Regions from separate parts of the Homo sapiens genome. Here region 2 is linked to region 1. The links are contacts of gene promoters, found by promoter capture Hi-C in human tissues and cell types (Jung and others, 2019). All regions are on one chromosome and are shown on one strand. The core of a region is centred on a gene start or on the middle of the fragment in contact, and the rest is flanking DNA. Distances in the headings are between cores, read along the strand shown. Region 1 holds the start of GZMH (granzyme H). Region 2 has its middle 11 kb from the start of CTSG.

The links. Contacts are between HindIII fragments. The study calls those that stand out against the background at their distance.
Region 2: a contact is called between a fragment that was not itself captured here and the fragment with the promoter of GZMH in region 1, in 1 of the 25 tissues and cell types used here (small bowel).

What each region holds. Positions count from the first base shown.
Region 1 is chr14:24,605,491-24,612,837 of GRCh38, reverse strand. GZMH (granzyme H) reads left to right here and starts at 3,153. Exons shown (of 5, transcript NM_033423.5): 1 at 3,153-3,279; 2 at 4,426-4,573; 3 at 5,091-5,226; 4 at 5,432-5,689; 5 at 6,092-6,358. The coding sequence starts at 3,225. The coding sequence ends at 6,235. RefSeq lists an enhancer at 6,572-7,071. The HindIII fragment of the contact is 6,565 bases long and covers 693-7,257 here.
Region 2 is chr14:24,561,181-24,568,527 of GRCh38, reverse strand. No RefSeq gene overlaps it. Among named protein-coding and RNA genes, the nearest start is that of CTSG, 11 kb to the left of the region's middle. The HindIII fragment of the contact is 4,178 bases long and covers 2,170-6,347 here.

The DNA.
Region 1 (7,347 bases), core at 1,904-4,403:
GGTGATATCTGAAATCCATGCTTGCTTTCTCAGTGGGAAAGTTCACAGCCTTGGGCAAGATCTGAGTGGGGCACTTTGGGAGTGAGACTGGCCTTGCCAACTGTGTGGGAGCTGGGTGAGACCTCTCGCTACCAGCTTTCCGCCACTTCCCTGGTGAATTATATGACACAACAGAGGTAGCCAAGATCCCCTCTGGAAAATAACCCCATTGGCCTAAGAACCACCCCCACATCCCGCACAGTGGCCACAGCAAACCCCACCCAAGGAGACTCTGAGCCCAGACCCACCTAACCCTGCCCCAACATGATGGTATTTCTTTACTCACCCTGGTAACCAAACACAAAAGATAGAAACTCTTGGGAGCTTTCAGGCCCCACCCATCATCTGAGAAACCAAAATACTCACCCTGGCCAACTTAGGGCAAACCTAGATCCCTCTACTACCAATGCAGCTGGTGCTCTCTTGAAAGCACCACTTCTTGGCTGGAGGCCAAACAACACAGGCCATTACAGCAACTCATGACAGAATAACCCTGAACCCAGGAAGGAGAAGATAACACCTAATTCCAATGCCTGCAACATCCTGGCTAAACAGAGGTCCTGAGTGTGTCCACATGAAAACTTCACTGCTAGCATAACCAGCATTCAAGAAACCCAGCACACTACACATATCTACAACCAAGGACTCTCACAGAGTCTACTTCACTCCCCTTCCACCTCCACCAGAGCAGGTAATGGTATCCATGGCTGGGAGACCTGAAGAGAGATCACATCACAGGACTCTTTGCAGACATTCCCCAGCACCAGCTGGAACCTGGTAGCGCCACTGGGAGGCTAGACCCAGAAAAGCAGTAACAGCCAATGCAGTCCAGTGGTCAGAAAGTCCCATCCCTAGGGGAAGGGGGAGAGCACCACATCAAAGGATCACCCCATGGGATAATAGAATCTGAACAGCAGGACTTGAGTTCCAGACCTTTCCACTGAAATAGTCTACCCAAATGATAAGGAACTAGAAAGGTAATTCTGGTAATATGATAAAACAGAGTTCTATATCACCTCCAAAAGATCACACTAGCTCCCCAGCAATGGATCCAAACCAAGAAGAAATCTCTGAATTGCCAGATAAACAATCCAGAAGATCATTAAGCTACTCAAGGAGATACCAGAGAAAGGTGAAAAAACAACTTTAAAAATTAAAAAATATATATATACATAAATATAGGATATGGGTGAAAAATTCCCCAGAGAAATAGATATCATAAAGAAAAAATAATCACAACTTCTGGAAATGAAAGCCATGCTTAGAGAAATACAAAATCCACTGGAAAGTTTCAACACTAGACTAGAACAAGCGGAAGAAAAAACTTCAGAGCGCAAAGACAATGCTTTCAAATTAACCCAATCAAACAAAGACTAAGAAAAAATAATTTTTAAAAAATGAACAAAGCCTCCAAGAAATGTGGGATTATGTTAAACAGTCAAACCTAAGAATAATTGGTGTTCCTGAGGAAGAAGAGAAATCTAAAAGCTTGAAAACCTTATTTGAGGAAATAATTGAAGAAAACTCCCCTGTCCTTGCTAGATACCTAGACATCCAAATACAAGAAGCTCAAAGAACACCTGGAAAATTCATCACAAAAAAGTCTATCACCTAAAGTCCTATCCCAGTTCTGTTAAAGTAATAGCAGGAATAGCACCTTATAAATACCTAGAAAAATAGTAGAAGGAAACATGCTTAAGCATTAATAATGATCTCCGGTGGTAGAATTTTTGGTAAGTTTAATTTTATCATTTACATGTTCCTACTTAACTATACATATATATTTATATATATTCATATACATAAATATACAAACATATGTATATATACACATTTTTGTTTATGGACAGCCTATGACTGTGAGCCAAGGGACATCAGAGACATGGCTCTCTGGAAACTGAGAGAATACTTAGTGGACAGTTTTTTGTTTGTTTGTTTGTTTGTTTTTGAGATGGAGTCTCGCTCTGTCACCCAGGCTGGAGTGCAGTGGCGCGATCTCAGCTCACTGCAAGCTCCACCTGGGTTGACGCCATTCTCCTGCCTCCGCCTCCCAAGTAGCTGGAACTACAGGAGCCCGCCACCACGCCCGGCTAATTTTTTGTATTTTTAGTAGAGATGGGGTTTCACCATGTTAACCAGGATGGTCTCGATCTCCTGACCTCGTGATCCACCCGTCTTGGCCTCCCAAAGTGCTAGGATTACAGGCATGAGCCACCGCGCCCGGCCTTAGTGAACAATTATTATCAGGATGATCAGCATCCATTTTTCCATCACCTGGCAACAACAACTAGCATTTCTCAAGGGAAATCCCCTCCTCATTCATAAGCACCATAGATGGAGTGGAACAGTCCCCACCTCAGCTTAAGGAGGGCTAAATAACCAAAGCATAAAGCAATCAGTCCACTACACTTCAGTGGACCCAATGATGACTCATTTTGGTTCAATAAATATCAAGTCCAGAACTTTTGTGCAGAACTGTGGAATAAAAAAAGTTATCTTTGTCACAGAATATTTATATTTAAAGAGGGGATTCTAAATATCCCAAAAATATGAATCTGAGATAGTGGTAAGATAGGAATGGGTTGCCATTTGCAGTATTTGTTGGGTGTGTGCAACTCTGCATACTGCTAAGGCAAGTCCAGCCTCCGTCTCACACCAACAGGCAGATTTCCCCACCACGGCCCTTACCATCTTGTGCTCTAACCCCAGATTTTCAGTCTACTCTTGCTAACCATCAATTCTTCAAGGGCAAGAGCCATGTCTCTCATATCCCTGGATCTGGCTTGCTAAATAATTATTCATGATTTTATCTGAGTAGAAAAAGAGCCAAGAACTGAGAAAAGGAGACATTCTTGGTTCTCAGTCACTGAGGAGCTTCTGCAGTACCAGCCTTTCTGCTAGCTGCAGCCACAGCTTCAACAGCTCCACCTCCTTGTTCTTTATTCTTGCTTTCACCTTGTTACTCAGCAGCAGGGGTGTAAATGTGACAGTGCCATGTCAACTTAAACCAAACCAGATAATTTTAATAAACCACCTTCTATAATGACACCCATCAAAACCAGAAGGGGACAAGTCTAGGAGGTCTCTGAGTTTACTGTACCCATCCCTCCTTCATCTCCCTCCAGCATTTGTTTCTGGAAGGAGTCAACACCAACAGCTCTGACCTGGGCAGCCTTCCTGAGAAAATGCAGCCATTCCTCCTCCTGTTGGCCTTTCTTCTGACCCCTGGGGCTGGGACAGGTAAGTGACTATCCCTATTCCAGAGGCCTGAACCCATCTTATAAGATACCCTGTACCCATGAGCACTGGTCAGGAATTTTCCTCAATCTGAGCCCACCTCCCATTCCACACCCAGACTTATAAATCTGAGGCTAGATAGACACTCAGCAAAGATCGAAAAATGAAGGGTGTTCCCTAAAAGGTTTAATGGGTGTTAGCCTCTCCCTAGACCTCTCCTTTATGACCTGGAGTGTGGATTGTTCTTAGAAAGGCATTTGGTAGGGAATGTGAAGCTAAAAAAGATAAGTAATTATTACTCTACACTCCAACCCAGGAAAGAGGAGCTCAGACACCAAGTTGCAGTCATAGGAGTTGTTACTGGACTCAGCTTAAGAACCACTTATTCAGTGCCCCCACCCAGTCACCCCTGCCAGGAGGGAAGCCCATGGTGCAACTGATCTCAGAGATGGCAAGATGACTGTGTCCATAGCTCTCCCATTACCTTGGCTCCACCTGGGCTTTGCGATTCATTTTTAGTTGATTTCTCCACTTCCTTCTGCCTTTGCAGGCCCTCAGCTACTCCACTGACCTGGTGATAACCCCCTCTAACATCCCTGAGGTCCTGAATCCCACCAGCACTACCCCCACTAAACCTCAGCCAAAGGCTAATTGGAGGCTATTCATTTATGCACCAAACAACACTTACTGAGAACCTAGAATGTGTTCAGCCCTGGCACATGAGAATTTTAGAAAATCCAACTCCAGAAGCTCATGGGTAGATCATTAGAAAATGGCACCAATCAGGAGGACAGCAGAGGCTCAGAGGAATCAGAGAGACTCACTAAAAAGGAGGAGCCTGGGAAGTCCTGTCCAGGATCCTCTGGGGCTCTACCACTGTGAAAATAGATCTTTCTTCCTCCATGTGTGTTTCTGCAGTAGGATGCAGAAGTCAAGCACTGTCCATTCTTTCTGAGAGAAGGTTCTGAGACTTAAAGTTCAGAAAAGCTTGCTCTGCCTGCAAGGAGTACTGCCTGCAGAGCTCAGGAGGACCCCTCCCTCACTGTCTGCAGCACACAAAACACTTCACCCTCAATCACTGTCGTCCTAAGCCTTCTCTCCTGACTGCAGCCATCCCCAGCTACTTTATCTTCCAGTCTTTCCTTTCAGAGGAGATCATCGGGGGCCATGAGGCCAAGCCCCACTCCCGCCCCTACATGGCCTTTGTTCAGTTTCTGCAAGAGAAGAGTCGGAAGAGGTGTGGCGGCATCCTAGTGAGAAAGGACTTTGTGCTGACAGCTGCTCACTGCCAGGGAAGGTAAGGAGCAGCACCAGCTCACCTCCTGAGTTCCCCCTACAGGGACCCTTGTTTTCTCCTGGGGACTGCAGCCCAGGGGAGCTTCCAGAGTTCCTGGTAACACAAGCCCATGAAAGCTCATCGGAGCAGCCACCTGGGAATAGGACTAAGATGATGAAAGGCTGAGAAATAGGACAGGGTCAGAGGGTCAGAGGGTCAGAGGTCAGAGCAAGTGGCATGGTTTCACACACTGGCCCAATAAGGCAGTAGTAAAGGTTGAATCCATGCATTAAGGATCAAAATGCAAACTCGAGCAATTTCATGATATTTCCTGAAGGCAAGAGAGAGCCCCCAGAAGCCCTACTCTTCATGTCTTTGTGAAGTAGAGGGCACAGTCACTCAGCCCTGGAGCCCTCCTGTCCCTTCAACTTCCCCTCAGCTGCAGCCCTACCCTGCCACAGCTGTCATCTGCTCTTCACTGCTCCTGGGCTCTATCCCCTGTGACTCCACCCCCATCCTCACTCTGCTCTCTGTGCAGCTCCATAAATGTCACCTTGGGGGCCCACAATATCAAGGAACAGGAGCGGACCCAGCAGTTTATCCCTGTGAAAAGACCCATCCCCCATCCAGCCTATAATCCTAAGAACTTCTCCAACGACATCATGCTACTGCAGGTGAGGCACACTCCTGCCACTCTTGCTCTTCTTGGTCCAGTTGGTTCCACTCCCACTGGGATGCCGGCCCTTTCCTCCTTTCCATCCTGACCTCTTGGTCAGTTCCTGTGCCTTAGAGGAGAGGGAAGATTGTGCAGCCCCATCACTGTGTCGGGGCCCAGAAGGCCATTGCCTGACCTGGACTTTCTTGCTTCTTCCCCACCAGCTGGAGAGAAAGGCCAAGTGGACCACAGCTGTGCGGCCTCTCAGGCTACCTAGCAGCAAGGCCCAGGTGAAGCCAGGGCAGCTGTGCAGTGTGGCTGGCTGGGGTTATGTCTCAATGAGCACTTTAGCAACCACACTGCAGGAAGTGTTGCTGACAGTGCAGAAGGACTGCCAGTGTGAACGTCTCTTCCATGGCAATTACAGCAGAGCCACTGAGATTTGTGTGGGGGATCCAAAGAAGACACAGACCGGTTTCAAGGTTGGGTTTCCAGCCTCTACCCAGAAAGACCACAGGGAGAGAGGAACTTGAGGGAGTTCTGGGGTATGACAGTGGCCAGATCTTTATGCTCTCAGCCCAGAGCTTGGGCAGCCTGTGTCCCCCTGGAATCTAGTCTTTAGTCCACTCCTTGGGTGGACTGGGGTGGCTGGAGGGGAAGGATCTGTCATCCGACAGTCACTTATCACCAAAGTGTCCGTGAGAATTGCAGAGAAAGGCTTGGTCTGGGGAGAGCCAGAAAGCACAGCCAGGGCCATGCTGGAGACCCAGGACTGAGGGAGGTGAGTGACAAGGCCTGCCTGGCACTGATGTCACACAAAATCCATAACAGAGACCACCCATCCCAGGGAACACTAGCTCAGTCTTTCCTCTCTCTGTTCACAGGGGGACTCCGGGGGGCCCCTCGTGTGTAAGGACGTAGCCCAAGGTATTCTCTCCTATGGAAACAAAAAAGGGACACCTCCAGGAGTCTACATCAAGGTCTCACACTTCCTGCCCTGGATAAAGAGAACAATGAAGCGCCTCTAACAGCAGGCATGAGACTAACCTTCCTCTGGGCCTGACCATCTCTGGGACAGAGGCAAGAATCCCCAAGGGGTGGGCAGTCGGGGTTGCAGGACTGTAATAAATGGATCTCTGGTGTAAATATGACTGAAGTCTTATTTATTCACTGAACCATCTTCAATATGCAACAACACTGCTCCAGGCAGCCGTCTGCTGTCAGTTCTGGCTTTTGCTTCTTCCTTTCTCCCCCAGCCCTCCCTCCTCCCTAAACCCCATGCTGTACAGTTTTTTCACTAATTTCTCAATCACATGTCTTTGATACTGAACCCTCTGTTAGAGCTGGTTTGAACTCCATTATAAACAAACAATCTTCACCCCTCTCCCTTCACAAAAAAAAATAAACCTCTCTGGACGTTAGGAATTTCTTATCGTCTCTAAACCAACTACCTACTCCCCTAACAACGTAGCAGAGAATGGAGCAGGGCAGTGGAAAGGAAATAACTCCAGGGACTCAGAAGGCCAGGGGCCATGCCATGAGTACTCAGTTTCCTATTTTCAGGGCCTGTCCCTCCAATGGGGGCAGGCTTCTCCCACAGCCAGGTCTGCCTGCAGCTTAGGAGGTTGAGATGCTCCTCTGCACCTAGGTCCCTCTTCCCTGCCCTGGGCCCAGCCCTGAGCTCAGTCAACCTTCTTCCTTCCTGGCCGGCCTTCCCAGCTCCCAAGAGTTTTTCACCCAAGTGCCCTGGCTACCAGTTTCTTTCCCTTCTAGATCACCCTGTTCTGAAGCCAGCCTCTCTCTCATGTCCCTAACAGAGTTCCCAGCTCTGTGTGAATTCTTCTCTACTGCTTGTCCCAGCCAGACCTCGGCTGCCAGCCCACCTGATGCTGATCAGAGGAGCCAGCTCTCACCTTCCACCTGGGCAGGGCTAGCTGAGGCCCTCAGTCCAGTGCAGCTTTCCCCAGGGTCTCAGGCATCACCTTCTGGGGAGCCACCCAGCAGCCTCAACATCTTTCAGCCTAGCCTGGCTTCAGACCCAGACTCCCCCTGTTGGCAATCTGGGGTTATGGCAGCTGTGCACCAGAGGGCTCCAGGGCCACTGGGCTGGAAGTAACACTATGCCAGTTATCAATAGACT
Region 2 (7,347 bases), core at 3,009-5,508, 45 kb after region 1:
GGTATAGTGGTGACAATTTCCCTCAGTGTTTGCTTCTCTGGGAAAAACTTTATTTCTCCTTCATTTATGAAGCTTATTCTGGCAGAAAATAAAAATCTAGACTGACAATTTTTTCCTTTCAGTACTTTGAATATACCATATCATTCTCTTCTCCTGTGTAAGGTATCTGCTGAAAAGTCTGCTGTTAGTTCAATAAGGTTTCCTTTACAGGTGACTAGATGCTTTTCTCTTGCTAATTTTAAAATTCTTTCTTCTACCTTGACTTTAGACATTCTGAATATAATATGCCATGGTGAAATCCTTTTTGCAATGTATTTTCATGGAGATTGCTAGGCCTCCTATACCTGGGTGTCTAACTTTCTTGCTAGACTTGGGAAGTTTTCATAGATTACCTCCTTAAACAGGGTTTCTAAACTCTGATCTCTTTTCCTCCTTGGGAACACCAATAATTTTTAAGTTTGTTTGCTTTATATAGTCCCAAACATCTGCTTTGTTCATTATTTTTTATTCTTTTTTCCTTATTTTTGTCTGGCTGGATTATTTCAAAAGACCTGTATTCAAATTCTGAGATTGTTTCTTCTGTTAGATCTAGTCTATTATTGAAGCTTTCAAATATTTTTTTTATTTCTTTCAATGAGCTTTTCAATTCCAGAACTTATGCTTTTTTTTTTTAAGGTATCTATCTCCTTGGTAAATTTCTCATTCATTTCTTGAATGCCTTTCTGATTTATTTGTTTGATGCAGATTTCTCTTGCATCTCATTGCACTTCTTCAGAATCAATATTTTGAATTCTTTATCTGGAATATTGAGCAATTATTTTTGGTTGGAATATGTTGCCGGATAATTGTTGTGGTCCTTTGGTGTGTCATATTTCCTTACCTTTTGTGAATCCTGTGTCCTTCTATTAACATCTGAGCATCTGATATAGCTTGTTCCAATTTTTTGAAATGCTTTTTTAGGGGACAATTTTTTTCTGAAGATGTATATATATAGTAGGACACTTTGGCTTTAATTTGGAGTGCCTGTGGTAGTGTGACCTTTGTATGTCTTATTCAGCAGCACACAGCGTCAGTGGTATCTGTGATATCCTCAGTGGCTTAAGTATAGTTATTAGTTAAGGCTGTGGTTAAGTTTAGCTGAGGATTTGGACACCAGCTGAGCCAGTCTTCAAGCCCCAGTGGTGGCAGCAGCAGGCTGAGTGTGCCTGTTTTTAGGCCCCAGAGAAGTTTACTTTGGCATTGGTGTTAGTGTGTCCCAGAGGGCTGATTCTTGGGCCTCCAGATGGCTTGCTTAAAAGTGTTCTAGTAATGGGAGTTAAGGGCTTGTGCGTGTTCAGGTTCTCAGGCCCCTGGGCAGCTGGTGTAATGCGGGTGATAGCAGTAGCAGTGATGGAGCACTGAAACCCAAGTGGTCTATATTGGTGGTCTGGAAGCTGTGATGGGTTGGGAAGACTAGTCCTCAGTCCCACAAATATCTGTAGAAAGACAGTGGGTATTGTACTATGTGTGCTTAGGAGAGCTTGGTCTCCCTTGTCTCTGCCTCAGCTGGGTGGCAGCTGCAGTCATGTTGCCTTGAACTTGGCCTAAAGGCAGGGCAAAGCCCAATGTTAAGCTCTCAAAATGGTGTTGGCTGTGGGTCTGTGACAAGAGACAGCAGGGCCTCCCTCAGATGAACAGCATGGGCAAGAAGCTGTGAAGACTGCCATCCACTGAAGTCACAGTCTCACAGCAGCCCTTATCAGGGTGCTAGGTATTGTCCTAGGTATGCATAGGAGAGTGTGATTTCCGTGTCCCTCCTCAGCTGGGCAGAAGCTGTAGCCATGTCAGTGCTTACTTTGCCCAAGGGCAGAGCACAGGCCAGTGTTAAACTCTCAAAATGGCACCAAGGGTCTGCAACCTGGGAAGGTGGAACCTTTTACAGGCTGGCAGTGTGGGCAAGAATCTGTAAGAAGTGTGGTCTACTTACATCTCAGTCTTACAGCAGCATGGTTGTAGGGAAGTGGGTATCATTCTAGATAAGTGTAGCAGCAGCTGGTTTCCCTGCTGTTCTTTGGCTGGGGGGTGGTTGCAGCCACGTGAGCCCAAGCTCAGCCCAAGGGTGAGGTGAAGCCCAGCATTAAACTCTCAAGATGGCATCTTGAGCTTGGGACCAGAGCGGATGCCCCCTTCCCCAAGGAAGCAGTATGGGCAAGAAGCTGTTTAGAGTATGGTTCACTCATGTCTCATTCTCAACAGGAGCACACAGCAGGATGGTAGGGACTCTCCCAGGGGTGCATAAGAGTGCCTGGTCTCCCTTCTCCCTTTTTGGAGCAGCAGCCATGTCTGTAGATCCCCAATATCTAGGCTGTCGAGAATGGTGTCCAGCTGAAGCTGTTCTAGGCTCGGATGCCTTTGGGATTTTGTAGTGAGTTCCCTTTCTGGAGCAATATCTCTGTGCAATCTCTAAGCAGCTACATATGTCAGTCCTGAGGCCTTAGTGAATCAAGAGATTCTCCCATAGCCAAGATCATAAAAGACCATTTTGGAGTGTGGATCCCTGGGGGTTTCTCTTACACTGTTTCCTCACATTCAGAAGCCTTTCCTGGCTCTCAGCCAGTCCCCAACCAGATAAGCCACTACAGACTTCTTTTGATTAGAGTGTGCATGAGATATTTTCTCATTTTTTGAATATGAACCTATTTGTGTCTTTGTAGTTAAAGTGTGTTACTTAAAGACAGCATATAATTGGTCCTTGCCCCTTGATTAGAGTGCTTATTCCGTTTATATTTAATCCAATTATTATGATTAAACTTAAATCTGCTATTTTGCGATTAGTTTTCTATTTATCTCATAGACTTTGCTTCTCTCTTGCCAGCTTCTTGCTTTCTTTTTTGTCAAATAGGTTTCCCACTTTTTTTTTTTTTTTTTTTGAGACAGGTCTGGCTCTGTCACACAGGCTGAAGTGCAGTGGCACAGTCTTGGCTCACTGCAACCTCTACCCCCTGGCTCAGCCTCCCAAGTAGCTGAGACTACAGGTGTGCACCACCACACCTGGCTACTATTTGTATTTTTTGTAGAGATGGGGTTTCACCATGTTTCCCAGGCTAGTCTCAAACACCTGAGCTCAAGCAATTCACCTGCCTTGGCTTCCCAAAGTGCTAGGATTACAAGTGTGAGCCACCACACCTGGCCTAATATATTTTCCACTTTTCCTTGTTAATTTCTTTATTGTCTTTGAGCTATATCTCAGCATTCCTTTTAGTGGAAAATATAAAGATTATGGTATTCATTTTTATTTTAGAAAAAATATAGAAACATTGCAACTATATAGCTTCAAACTAGATGTCTATATTCACCATCACTAGTACTTTTCATTGCTTTCTGTAGATTTGAGAAACCATCTGACATCATTTCCCTTCATAGTCAAGGCTGTAGATTGCCATTTTCCTGAGTATGAATCATACTTTTTCTTTCCTTACATATCTAAGGATATTGTTTGGACCTTTGGCCCCTCTAAATCTCATGTTTAAATGTGATTTCCAATGTTGCAGATGGGGGCTGGTGGGAGGTGATTAGATCATGTCAGATCCCTCATGAATGGTTTAGCACCATCACCTTTCTGATAAGTATCAGTTAGTTCACAAATGATCTGGTTGTTTAAAACAGTCTGGGACCTCCCCCTTCTCTCTTTCTTGCTCCTCCTCTCACCATGTGACATTCTGGCTCCCCTTCACCTTCCACCATGATTGTAAGCTTCCTGAGGCTCTCACCAGCAACAAATGCCAGCACTATGCTTCATATGTGGCCTGCAGAACTGTAAGCCAATTAAACCTCTTTTCTTTATAAATTATCCAGTCTCAAGTATTTTCATAGCAATGCAAGAACACACTAATGCTTCTAGTAATTTGGGGCTAAAAATAAGACACACTTAAGTGACTCTTGATCCCGTTATGTTCTTCTGAAAATGGGTTTTCCTTCAGATTTATTAGTCTGTTCTTGCATTGCTATACAGAAATACCTGGGTAATTTATAAATAGAAGAGGTTTAATTGGCTCACAGTTCTGTGGACTGTACAGGAAGTATGATGCTGGCATCTGCTCAGCCTCTGGGCAGACCTCAGGAAGCTTACAATCATGGCAGAAGGCAAAGGGGAAGCAAGGCATCTCACATGGTGGGAGCAGGAGCAAGGTATTGGAGGGGGGCGGTGCCACACACTTTTAAAAGACCAGATTTCAAGAGAACTCACTCACAATCATGAGGACAGTACCAAGTGGAATGGTGATAAATCATTTATGAGAAATCCACCCCCATGATCCAATTACCTCCTACCAGACCCCAACATTGATATCCTCCAACATTGAGGGTTACAATTAAGCATGATATTTGGGTGAGAACACAGATCCAAACCATGTCATTCCACTCCTGGACCCTCCCAAATCTCATGTCCTTCTCTCATTTCATAATATAATCATTCCTTTTCAACAGTCCTCCAAAGTCTTAACTCATTCCAGCATTAATTCAAAGGTCCAAATTCCCATCTGAGACAAAGCTACTCCTTTCCACCTATGAGCCTGTAAAATAAAATACAAGTTAGTTACTTCCAAGATACAATAAGCATACAGGCACTGAGTTAATACTGACATTCCAACAGGGAGAAAATGGCCTAAAGAAAGGGGCTACAGGCCCCATCAAAGTCTGAAGCCCCGAGGGCAGTCAGTAAATCTTAAAGCCCCAAAATAATCTCCTTTGACTCCATGTCCTACATCCAGGGCACACTGGTGTGAGGGGTGGATTCTCAAGGCCCTGGGCAGCTCCCCCACTGTGGCTTTGCAGGGTTACGCCTCCAAGGCTGTTCTCACAGCTCCTTTCACAGGCTGGCATTGACTGCCTGTGGCTTTTTCAAGTGCAGGGTGCAAGCTGTCAGTGGATCTACCATTCTGGTGTCTGGAGGATGGTAGCTCCCTTCTCATAGCTCCACTAGGCAGTGCCCCAGTGGGGACTCGGTGTGGAGCTCCAACTCCACATTTCCCCTCCCCACTACTGTAATAGGGGTGCTCCATAAGGGCTCTGTCCCTGCAGCAAGCTTCTACCTGGACACCCAGGCTTTTCCATACATCCTCTGAAATCTAGGTGAAGGCTCCTAAGCCTCAGCTCTTGTATCCTGCACACTTGCAGGATTAACACCACGTGGAATCTGCCAAGGCTTGCAGCTTGCACCCTCTGAAGCAGCAGCCCAAGCTGTACGACAGCCCGTCTGAACCATGGCTAGAACTAGAGCAGCTGGGATGCATGCAGCAGTGTCCTGAGGCTGCACAGGGTAGCAGGGCCTTGGGCCTGGCCCACAAAACCTGCTAGTCCTCAGGAAACACAATCATTGCCTTCCACCATGATTGTAAGTTTCTTGAGGCTTCCCCAGAAGTTGATGGGAGAAGGTGCCTCAAAGTTTTTTGAAATGCCTTCCAGGCCTTTTCTCCATTGTCCTGGCTATTAGCACTTGGCTCCTTTTGACTTATGCAAATTTCTGCAGTCTGCTTGAATTCCTCACCTGAAAATGCGCTTTTCTTTTCTACCACATGGCTAGGCTGCAAATGTTTCAAACTTTTATGCTCTGCTTCCCCTTTAAATATAACTTCCAACTTTAAGTCATTTATTTGCTTATGCATATGAGCACAGGCTGTTAGAAGCAGCAACAACACATCTTGAATGCTTTGCTGCTTAGACATGTCTTCCACCAGATACCCTAAATCATCACTCTTGAGTTCAAAGTTCCACAAATCCCTAGAGCAGGGGTATATTGCAGCCAAGTTCTTTGCTAAGGCATAACAAAAGTGACCTTTGCTCCATTTCCCAATAAGTTCCTCATCTCCATCTAAGACTTCATGAGCCTGGCCATCTCTGTCAATATCACTATCAGCATTTGAGTCACAACTACTCAACAAGTATCTAGGAAGTTTCAAATTTTCCCTTATCTTCCTGTCTTCTTCTGAGCCCTCCAAATTCTTCCAACCCCTTCCTGTTACTCAATTCCAAAGCTGCTTCCATATTTTCAGGAATCTTTATAGCAATACCCTGCACCTGGTACCAATTTTCTGTATTAGTTCATTCTTGCATTTGTATAAAGAAATACTGGAGGTTGGGTAATTTATAAAAGAAAAAGGTTTAATTGGCTCACAGTTCGACAGGCTGTATTTAAAAAAAAAGCATGATGCTGGCATCTATTTGGCTTCTGGGGAGGCCTCAGGAAACTCACAATCATGGCAGAAGGCAAACAGGGAGCAAGGCATCTCACATGGTGGGAGCAGGAGCAAGGCAGGAGGGGGTGTCGTACTCTTTTAAACCACCAGATCTTGTAAGAACTCACTCATGACCATGAGGAGAGTACCAAGTGATATGTTGCCAAACCATTTATGAGATATCCACCCCCATGATCCAATTAACTCCTGCTAGGCCCCTCCTTCATCCAGGTCCCACCAGGTGCCACCTCAATTGTAATTGAGGATTACAACTGAAAATAGAATTTGAGTGGGGACAAAAATCCAAACCATGTCATCAGGTAAAGACTTAGTCTGCCTGGACTCAAGACTATAAACTGTGTCTTCCTTGTGAAGTGCAGCAGCTGGTGTTTCTGTTTAGCTGCTGTTATGTAGCCTCACCCCATACAGTCTTCCCCATGCCATATGCAGTTTTGTGATCAGCTAGGAAAAGGACATAGTTCACATTCAAATTTGGGGGTCTTACCCCTTCTATAGGTCCCTGAGTTCTAGAATTCCCCTCTCCTTAAATTTCCAACTGCTCCACCAGCCCTAAATCCTGTCCTTTGCTATCTCAAGGCAATAATGCTACAACTTTTTTCTGTCATAGTGTAAAGGGATATGGCGTACTCTTAGGTAAAAATAGAAAGCACAAGTTGCTGTTCTTATCTGTCATGGTCATCTGTGACTCTCCTAAATTTCTGCCTGCTTTGTGTACTTTCCAGTGACTTCAAATACTTATTTTAAATATTTCTTTCCAGTTTTTACAATTATTGCTTGCAGGAATCTTTACCAAACCCCTTGACATTACCACCATTCTTGGAATTCCGTGTGCATGTATTTTTAATTAATAAAATTAATATTTTATGTAAGCCTCATAGCAGAAATTGGCTGTTGCCTAATATTCTAGAGTTTGCATTGCCACATTTTATTAATTCATCTTCCCATTTATAGACAACTTATTTTACCTCCAGCATCCAGAATCCACACAAAAACACGCTACAATAAGAATTTTTCTATACATCCCCTTGTAGGTCTGTGTGTGAACTTCTCTGAAACATTATGAGGACACAAACATGGGAAAAAATTCCAAGCTCATGGATAGGAAGAATCAATA